Linked DNA regions of Homo sapiens: regions 1 and 3 are each linked to region 2. Evidence: promoter capture Hi-C in 16 types of primary human blood cells and fetal thymus (Javierre and others, 2016). All regions are on one chromosome and are shown on one strand. Each heading gives the region's core, a stretch centred on a gene start or on the middle of the fragment in contact. The rest is flanking DNA. Distances are from core to core; before and after follow the strand shown.

What was found. Contacts are between HindIII fragments. The CHiCAGO score rates a contact against its expected background, and 5 or more counts as called.
Region 1: a fragment that was not itself captured here is called in contact with the fragment with the promoter of FBLN5 in region 2 in 2 of 17 cell types (M2 macrophages and naive CD4 T cells); the score reaches 5.9 in M2 macrophages.
Region 3: a contact is called between a fragment that was not itself captured here and the fragment with the promoter of FBLN5 in region 2, in 1 of 17 cell types (naive CD4 T cells). The highest score is 5.6, in naive CD4 T cells.

What each region holds. Positions count from the first base shown.
Region 1 is chr14:91,701,201-91,704,065 of GRCh38, forward strand. All of the region lies in intron 7 of CATSPERB (catsper channel auxiliary subunit beta), which reads right to left. Among named protein-coding and RNA genes, the nearest start is that of CATSPERB, 29 kb to the right of the region's middle. The HindIII fragment of the contact is 1,955 bases long and covers 382-2,336 here.
Region 2 is chr14:91,946,385-91,949,084 of GRCh38, forward strand. FBLN5 (fibulin 5) reads right to left here and starts at 1,310. Exons shown (of 11, transcript NM_006329.4): 1 at 829-1,310. The coding sequence starts at 845. The HindIII fragment of the contact is 8,571 bases long and covers 1-2,700 here.
Region 3 is chr14:91,730,785-91,733,648 of GRCh38, forward strand. It overlaps CATSPERB (catsper channel auxiliary subunit beta), which reads right to left and starts at 1,302. Exons shown (of 27, transcript NM_024764.4): 1 at 1,146-1,302. The HindIII fragment of the contact is 1,781 bases long and covers 450-2,230 here.

The sequences.
Region 1 (2,865 bases), core at 109-2,608, 250 kb before region 2:
GCTGGCAACCAAGAAAAGTTAGAGGGAGGTAAAGTCTGAGTTCAAAAAAGCTCCATGTTTCAAACAAGAGGACAGGAGTAGTGATTAAGCAGTAATCCTAAGGAGCAAAGACAACAACCCTCACCCTGGGTTTTGAAATATGTGATATGTGGGAGGGCTGAGGGGAAAGAATGTCATCTGAGGATGACCCAGTACTCTTTATGGAAAGAAAGTTAAGGGACCATTCAGAGAAAAAGTGAGTGATATGGGGGAATTTGTTAATGACAGGCCACAAATTCTAATGAAAGGATTTGGGTGGATAGAGCGGGATAAAAGTTTGAATCAAATTAGAGGACATTCAGAACTGTATGTGGGATAGGATAACCAGAAATGATCTGCGGAAGCTTATGTTCTGGTAACTGATGGGAGGCCTGATGGTTTATGTCTTAAGAATATCCTAGAGGAGGAAAGGGGGTAATAAGTCCAAATTGGAGTACATGGGGCTGCTGCATAGCTGTTCCCACCATTAACTCCATGTGGTATGAAGGCCAGGAGGACAAACAAGGCCTCGCAAAGGAACTGCTAGTTGGGTGTGGTGGCGTGTACCTGTAGTCCCAGCTATGTGGGAGGCTAAGGTAGGAGGATTGCTTGAGCCTAGGAGTTTGAGGCTGTAGTGAGCCATGATTGTGCCTCTGCATTCCAGCCTGGGCAACAGAGAGAGACCCTGTCTCAAAAAAAAAAAAAAAAATTGCTGATTTAGGCAGTTGCAGCTTGATACTGTGAGAACTTCCTTTATTGCTTCAGCACAGTGGTGACCAGTTGGGGAAAAGGTGCTTTCACCTAAAGAACCTGTTGCTGAAGTTGTTTGTTTTCTTGAGAGGTTGAGGTGGCCTCATGAGTGTGATCCCAAGGAATTAAGACTGGCGCTTCTCTCCCATGACTTTCATTTGTAAGGCAGAATCAAGCATGAGGAGTTCAGAATGACCGCTCTCCTATGGCTCACAGAAGTAAGGTAGGTATTGGTGTTTGGATAAAGACGAGGAGGAGGAGGTCCTGGCTAGGACCTATTCACAGAACAACATAAGAAAAGGAGCCAAGTTTCTATCTGGATTGACATAGTGTAGAATATGACAGCAGAGAGTGGAAAAAGACACAATTATTAGGTTGGTGCAAAAAAAATCGCGGTTTTTGCCATTAAAAATAATTGCAAAAACCGCGATTACTTTTGCACCAACCTAGTAAAACTAAAGGAATTCCACAGAAGCAGACTATAAGCCATTAGGAAGTCAAAGAGATTTGGGCAAGGTTATTTGTCTATCCCTATACTGATGCATACTGTTTTAATCTATTGCTTTATAATAAGTCATGCTAGGACAAATTTTTGTTTTGTTTTTTTTCTCTAAAATTATGTTTGTTATTCATGGTGTATCATTCTCCCATATGAATTTTGTGTTTGGCTTGCCAATTTCTACACCCTCCCTGACACAAAAAAGAAAACACACACACACACACACACACACACACACAAACCAAAAACATTGTTATAATTTTTCTTGGAATCATATTGAATTGATAAATTTGTAATACATTTTATTTGTAATAAATTTATTTATAAAATAAATCTTTATAATACCAGAACTTCCTGCTTATAAACATGAAATCTCTTATTTATTTTGGTCTTTTTTTATGACCTTCATTAGTTTTATAATTTCTACACAATAGGCCTTGCAACTCCTTTTTTTATTCCTGGGTACTTTTTGGGATTTCTTACCTTAATAGGATTTTTTAAATTATAATCTTTAATTAGTCCTTGGTGGAGTGATTTTTATACATTGTTATTCTATCTCACAGCCTTCTAGCATACCCATATTTGTTCTGAGTTTTTCTACAGATCTTTTTGGATTTTTTTGTAGGTATACATATTATCTACGAGTAATAAAATTTTGTTTCTTATTTTTTAAGTTTTAAATATATTTTCCTTTATATTCACTGAATTTGGGGTCTAGGAGGTCATCAATTAGCTAGGAACAATAATTAAAATAATACTATTAGTAGTTGAAATGTGTAATGACATTGTGATATTGTGATATAACGAGAAATACGTATTTGGTTTTCGTCCCTGGCTCCTGATAGAGAACTCCTAAAACCTCCAGAATTTCCTGCATGATGGAGTGCTAGGAACATCCTTTGTTATAACATTTGGTCTTTGGCCCCAGTTCCTGATACAGAACCCCTAAACTCCTTGGAATTTCCTGGGTGATGGGATTGTCTTTTGTTCTAATGAAGCAACTCCTGACAGACTCCCAGATACCTTTAAGATGTGGGGTGGTCACCAGTAAAAGCAAGCCACGATTAGAAGCTTAGAGCCTTCAGCCCCACAGTGCATCTCCCAGGAAGTGGGGAGGGTGTGGAGACTGAATAAATAATTGATCAATGCCTATGTGATAAAGCTTCTCCTTACAGTGCAGGTTTTGGAATGCTAAAACACATCTACATACCAGGGGTGTGGCGTGTCACAACTCCACGGGGACAGAAGCTCCTTTTCTTGGGAATCTTCTGGACCTTGCCCAACTGTTTACTGTATCCTTTGTTTTGACCTTTATAATAAACTGGCAAACCTAAATAAACGTTCCCCTGAGTTCTGTGAGTTGTGCTAGCAAATTATTGAACTCAAGGAAGGATTTGTGGGACCTCCCCAAATTATAATTAGTTGATTAGAACTACAACCTGGGACTTGTGACCGGCATTTGAATTGGGGGACAGTCTTGTGGGACTGAGCCCTTAATCTGTTGTTGGCTGGAGAGGGGGGTCTGTGCTAACTCCAGATAGCTAGTGCCAGAATTGTATTAAATCATAGGACACCTACTCGGTCATCCACAGAGAACT
Region 2 (2,700 bases), core at 60-2,559:
AGGTGGGTTCGCCGGTGTTGTGCCTCAGCCTGAAACACAAGGAAAGCCGGAGAGACCAACCAAATACCAGGACTGCCTGTCACAGAAGTGCTGGTCCCCAATCCAGGATGACATTGTTACAGCTTAGTTTTCAGCACACACACACACACACACACACCCCACAGACACATACATACGCACACAAGGTTAATTTGTTCAAAGCAGTATGTTTTCAAGAGCTCGCTGAATAAAGACTGTGGGTGTCATTTAGGTAAAGTTCTCCAAGACTTAAGGATTACTTAACTGTAATTGCAATTTCCTTAAAGAATAGCAAAACATTTGCTTACATGTATCTCTGTCTGCAGTTCCCACTTCTCATTGGCTTGAAACTTCTGTGAGAATCCCACACAAACATAGAGCAAATCCAGCCCCGCGGTGTTCAGCTAGCCTGTCTGCTTGTCTATCAGCCGATGCGGCGCAGTAATTGCTAGTGAACTAGTAATTGGCCTCCCGAAATTTAAAAAATACATACAAAAATCCCTTAAAACGACAAAGTTGCTGCCCTTTCCAGAAAAGAAAGAGGAATGAAGCGCTGAGAATTTCGCAGCCCTCTCTGATGCTGGCTTTTGAAACTGTATTAGAAAATACCCACTCCCAAAAGAACGCTTCAAGATGGAAATTACAGAGGCGCAGCTTTTTATAATTAACAATATCATTGCATCACTAGCTCATGCCTTTTCCAATATCCTGACACCGCCTGAATCGCAGCCATAACCATTTTCCACCCATCGGATTTTTAGCAAGGCTTCCAGACCCTGGAGAAAGAAAAGTCCAGCGCCGAGAACCCACCTTTTTATTCCTGGCATGTCCAAGACGCGCGAGGAGGAGATGCGAAGGCGAGAAGAAAGCTCGCGGGCGGGACCCCCGGAGGAGCTCGGGCACGTCGGCCTCCTCTGGGCCCTCGGGGCTCGCGGGTGTTTTATTCCAGAGGGGCCGAGCGAGTCGTGGAGAGGACACGGGGAGAGCGCCGGGGTCCTCCCAGCCACTGCAGAGCCCTCAGCGCAAGCACCTGGTTTTGCTTAGCCCTCTTCAGTAATTCAGCATTAAACCAATTGGAGGAGGAATGTTAAAAATGAACACTTCATTTTCTAAGTATGTTAAACAATGCAAATGGGGCCTCAGTCTGGACACAGCTGGTTCAGATTACAGCGCTCACCAACTGGCTAGACTCCTCACAACAATCTTGGGGCGTCTGCCAGGGCCCAGTGCTCGGCGCTGGGAGGAGAGCCCTTCCCCGGCCGCGCTCGGCTGCGAGCGCCCGGGCAGAAGGCGAGGGGCGGGCGCGCGCAGGGGTGCGGGGGCTGGGAGGGCCCGGGCCCCTTGACCTTCCCACCCAGGGGCGGGGCGGGGCTGGCAGCGCGGCCCGGCGGGGAGGGGCGTGCACGCCCGCGCTGCGTGGCAAGGGGACCCGCGAGAACGTTGTCGCCTCCGGAAGGAAAGGGACTTGAACTCACGACCCACGCAGCTCCAGGGACTAGAAACTCACGATCGATTGGGAAACCAGAACCTACGAAGCAGAGGCTTGGGGCGAGCGACGGGAGAGTCGCGATCTTCCCGAAGAAGGGGTGGGGAGCAGCGGGGTGGGGTGGGGGGGAAGAGGATGGAATCCCGCTGGTGCGAATTCCAGACTTCAGCTTGTGCAATGCAAGTCTTAGGACGCTTTTCTCTCCCCGCCCTCATTCCCCGATTCTCCCTGGCATTTTCTCGCTTTCCTGGAAAAGTGTCCCCTGGCTCGAAAGTGATTTTAACAAGTTAAACGGTGATTTGAAGAAGGGACAGTCTGGAAAAGCAGAATGGTGGAGACAGCACATAAGACATGCTGAGTCCTTTGCATTCATTCTAGTGGAGGCTTCAACCTGTTTCTTTTTCCTGTTTGTTTGTTTGTTTGTTTGTTTGTTTTTAAGCCATTGGAGTACTTTTGTCAATGAAATCTTACAGAAGGCACTCACTCTATAAAACGCCAGTGGATGGACTGTGGCCTATCCCATCTGCTTCCACCTGCATCTTCCTACCTGCAGCCGAAAAGCCCTGATCCAGGTCCCCTGTCCTCACCACCACTCTAAGCAGTAGGAATGATCATCTCCATGTTATTAGAGGTGAAGATAAGAGAGGTTAGGTAACCTCCCCATAGTCACGCAGCTATTCATTGGTACAGCTGAGCCTCTGGAGTCTACATATTTAGCCTTCCCTAAGGCATTTTTGGGGGTAAGTAAATGGAATTCTACCCAAAGGAGAATAACAGAATGTGGATAGTTGTTGAAGCTGTGTCCATTATACTAGTCTAATCTATTTCCTTTTACGTGTTTGAAATTTCCTGTAAAACACTTTTTTAAATACCTTATGTTTATAAGGTTGTTCATCCCCCCATTGTTTGTAAAAGCAAAAGATTATAAACACCTTTAAGGTCGATCAGCAAGGCACCAATAGGGTTAAATAAAGTAAGGGGCTTCCAAAGGGACTATTGTGCAACCAATTAAAACCTAGACACTTAAGAGTCCACATCAAACGACTCCATTTATATAAAATTCAAAGTCAGATAGTGACTGGGAGGCAGCCCAGCCCCTTCTGGGTGCTGGTAATAATCTAATGATTGATCTGGATGCTGGTTATGTAGGGGTGTGTACATTTAATATTTGTGAAGTCTTATGTATGTTATATCTT
Region 3 (2,864 bases), core at 90-2,589, 220 kb before region 2:
AACTGACTTGCTTATTAAATACATTTAATTGACAATAGAAAGCTCAAACAGTTTGATTTTTTTGAATTCATTCTTATCACATTAACAGGGGAGAACTGAAGGTTTTTAGTGCATTTTTAAAAATCATCTGAGAAAACAACTTGTTTTCACAAGGTAAGAGGAAACAAATGGTAGATTAAAATTCTGTCGGCATGGTGCAATGCTCAAGTATATTTTTGGTGTAAGAACGAATTTAACATTAAGTGGAGACATTATCACAGTTAAACTCTGAAAATAGTCCCTTTACCAGAAAAATCTTATATCACTTTGCTAAACATTCAAATTAAATGATACAACACCATTATTAGAATCTTTATGCCTCTTCATGGGTCACCTGTGCAAACTCGAGAGAGTTAGTATGAAGCACGTGGTGGAAATTCTGGTTTTAATGTCAGCAAGCTTGTTCTGCAAGCTTTCTTATCTGCCATCCTGCAAGCTCAAGAATTTCTGCTACCTACTGGTTTCTTTAATTCTTTGGGGCATAGTTCCAGTCTCATTCTTCTTATTTTCCCTTCAATATTACAACTTTTCCTTATTTGATACTATCTTCTTTCAACTTTCAGCTCATAGTTAGAGTAAAAACATAGACTTTAGCCTAAGACGAAGTCTGTCCATCGAAATATTTGATTTTTAGCAAGCTATTTAACTTCTTGGAGTTCATATTCTATTCAGTAAAATGGGGATAACAGGCACTTCACAGTGTTGTTGTGAGAATTAAATGAAAAATACCTTAAAACATCTAACATATTCTATACAGAATAAGCACTTGACAAGTATTACTTCTGAATTCCATATCTCCATACACTGCAGCAACTTCTTTTTCCTCATCACACTCCCCTACTGACCTACTTAGCAGTTAAATTACCCCCAGTTATCATTCCTTTGTAATTATTATAAGTTTTACATAATTACTGGATACAAGTCATGTATCTGGGCATTTTCTCTTCTCTGGCACTAAATAAACATTGGGAATTGCCCCATTGAAGGAAGCTATTTCCTCCCCCAGTTGGTTCATTTATAGTTACTCCATTATTATGGAATAGTGATCACATTATAAATTCATACTCCAGCAGGGTCCTTATTTTAATATTTTTTACTGTAATTACCTCTTTAGGAGATGCGCAACTAGTTGTGTTCTTCTTTTTTATATTTTTTCTCAGTTTTCTTCCATATAGACTGAGAAGAAAGACCCAAAGTCAGGAGCCAAGTTTTCCCTGTTGACTGGCTTAGCACTCTAGTCACCTTTGGTAACAGCCAATCAGCAGCTACCAAGTACAGAAGCATGCTTAGAAAATCTAAAGGACAGGCAGTTGGAATTTCCAACTAACTGCCTCTTTCAGAGCACCACAGGCCATTTTCTTTAAAAACCGATGAGAGGTGGAGGTTCTCCAAACCTTCCATCTTTAATATAGCATTTATCTAGGAAGGATCAGAAACCTACATATGATTATCTATAAAACACTTCAATGATCATACGATCATTGAATGCCTGGGGAAAAACATAAATGCTAAAAGCTCATGCTAACTGCATATAATAAGGTTTAAAAGGAGGCAATCTCTCAAAGGGGAGGAGCTTCATAACTGGGTCTTTAAGGAAGACTGGGACTTAAAAAAAATAGAGAAGGCCTTATTGACAGGTAAACAAGACAAGCAAATACACAAAGCACAAAGTTAGAAATGAGCTGTGGACGCATGGAAACAGTGAGACCAAATGGCATGCCAGTTTGTCCTCCGTATTCATGTTGTGTGACTGTCCTTGATGTGGTTGTATGTGCTCACTAAGGCTGCCTTTGACTGAGTACCGAGTGAGCTGAGCTTGAACCTTTCTGTCTTACCCAGCGCCCTGACTAGTCATGAATGGTCACAGAGGCTGACACATACTTTTTGATAATCATGATAATAAAACGTGTTTTATACTCAGGTTGTCCTTCAGAAGTCCCTTCACATGGCCATGTAAAACCTGCTTTACCCTCATATCCTGAAATATGTCTGGTATCTGGGTTTAATCTATTCCTGGAAGAGCCCGCATCAGAAATATATTTCTCTCACCCTTTCTGGTGACCTTGACCTAAAGAAGAACCTGAAACAGTGTGCAAAACACAACAAAATATATTTCCTTATAAAGACTCAGTTCCCAGAAACTTGGAGCTCTCTTTTTTTGTTGCCTGTTTCCCACTAGGGAAGGCAATAAAGCTTTTATGGAAGAAGATGTAGCTTTCAGTTACCATAGCAACACTGCTACACATTAAAAAAAAGTCTGAGCAATACTGAAGGTACACATTGAGAGCTCTAAAAAGAATGATGAAGCAGGTGACATTTGCCTTCTTTCTCCCCAGCAACCTCTTAGTTTTCTTTTCCTCATTTGCCCCCACATTTTGTTTCCTAACTTACGAAAGAGTAAAGGATCTGTTTTCAATCACAGTCACTGATGAATTACACTTTGATGTGAGTACCAAGACTACTCCCACAGTAGGTGATTCATCTGTAACAGTGGAATGAAAGGGGTTCTTCTGCCTGAAAAACAAATTATGCACTGGGCTTCCGTCTAGTCAGGAGGATAGGGGGCAAGGCAATGGGCTGATTGAAAGAAGGATGACTTTGACTTTTTTTGTAATTTTTTGCTGGCTATAACAGGGCTTATTATGTGTGAAAAATGAAAACAAGTATAGAGAAATCAATTACGCATAAATCAACAACCAGATATAACCACTGTGGACATTTTGACATTTCTCGAGTCTGTTTCTTCTGCATTTATATGTCCTTCTTTCAGTCATTGTTAGTCTGACCATTTTCTCGTGTAACTCAAGTGTTTTATTTAAGTCTTC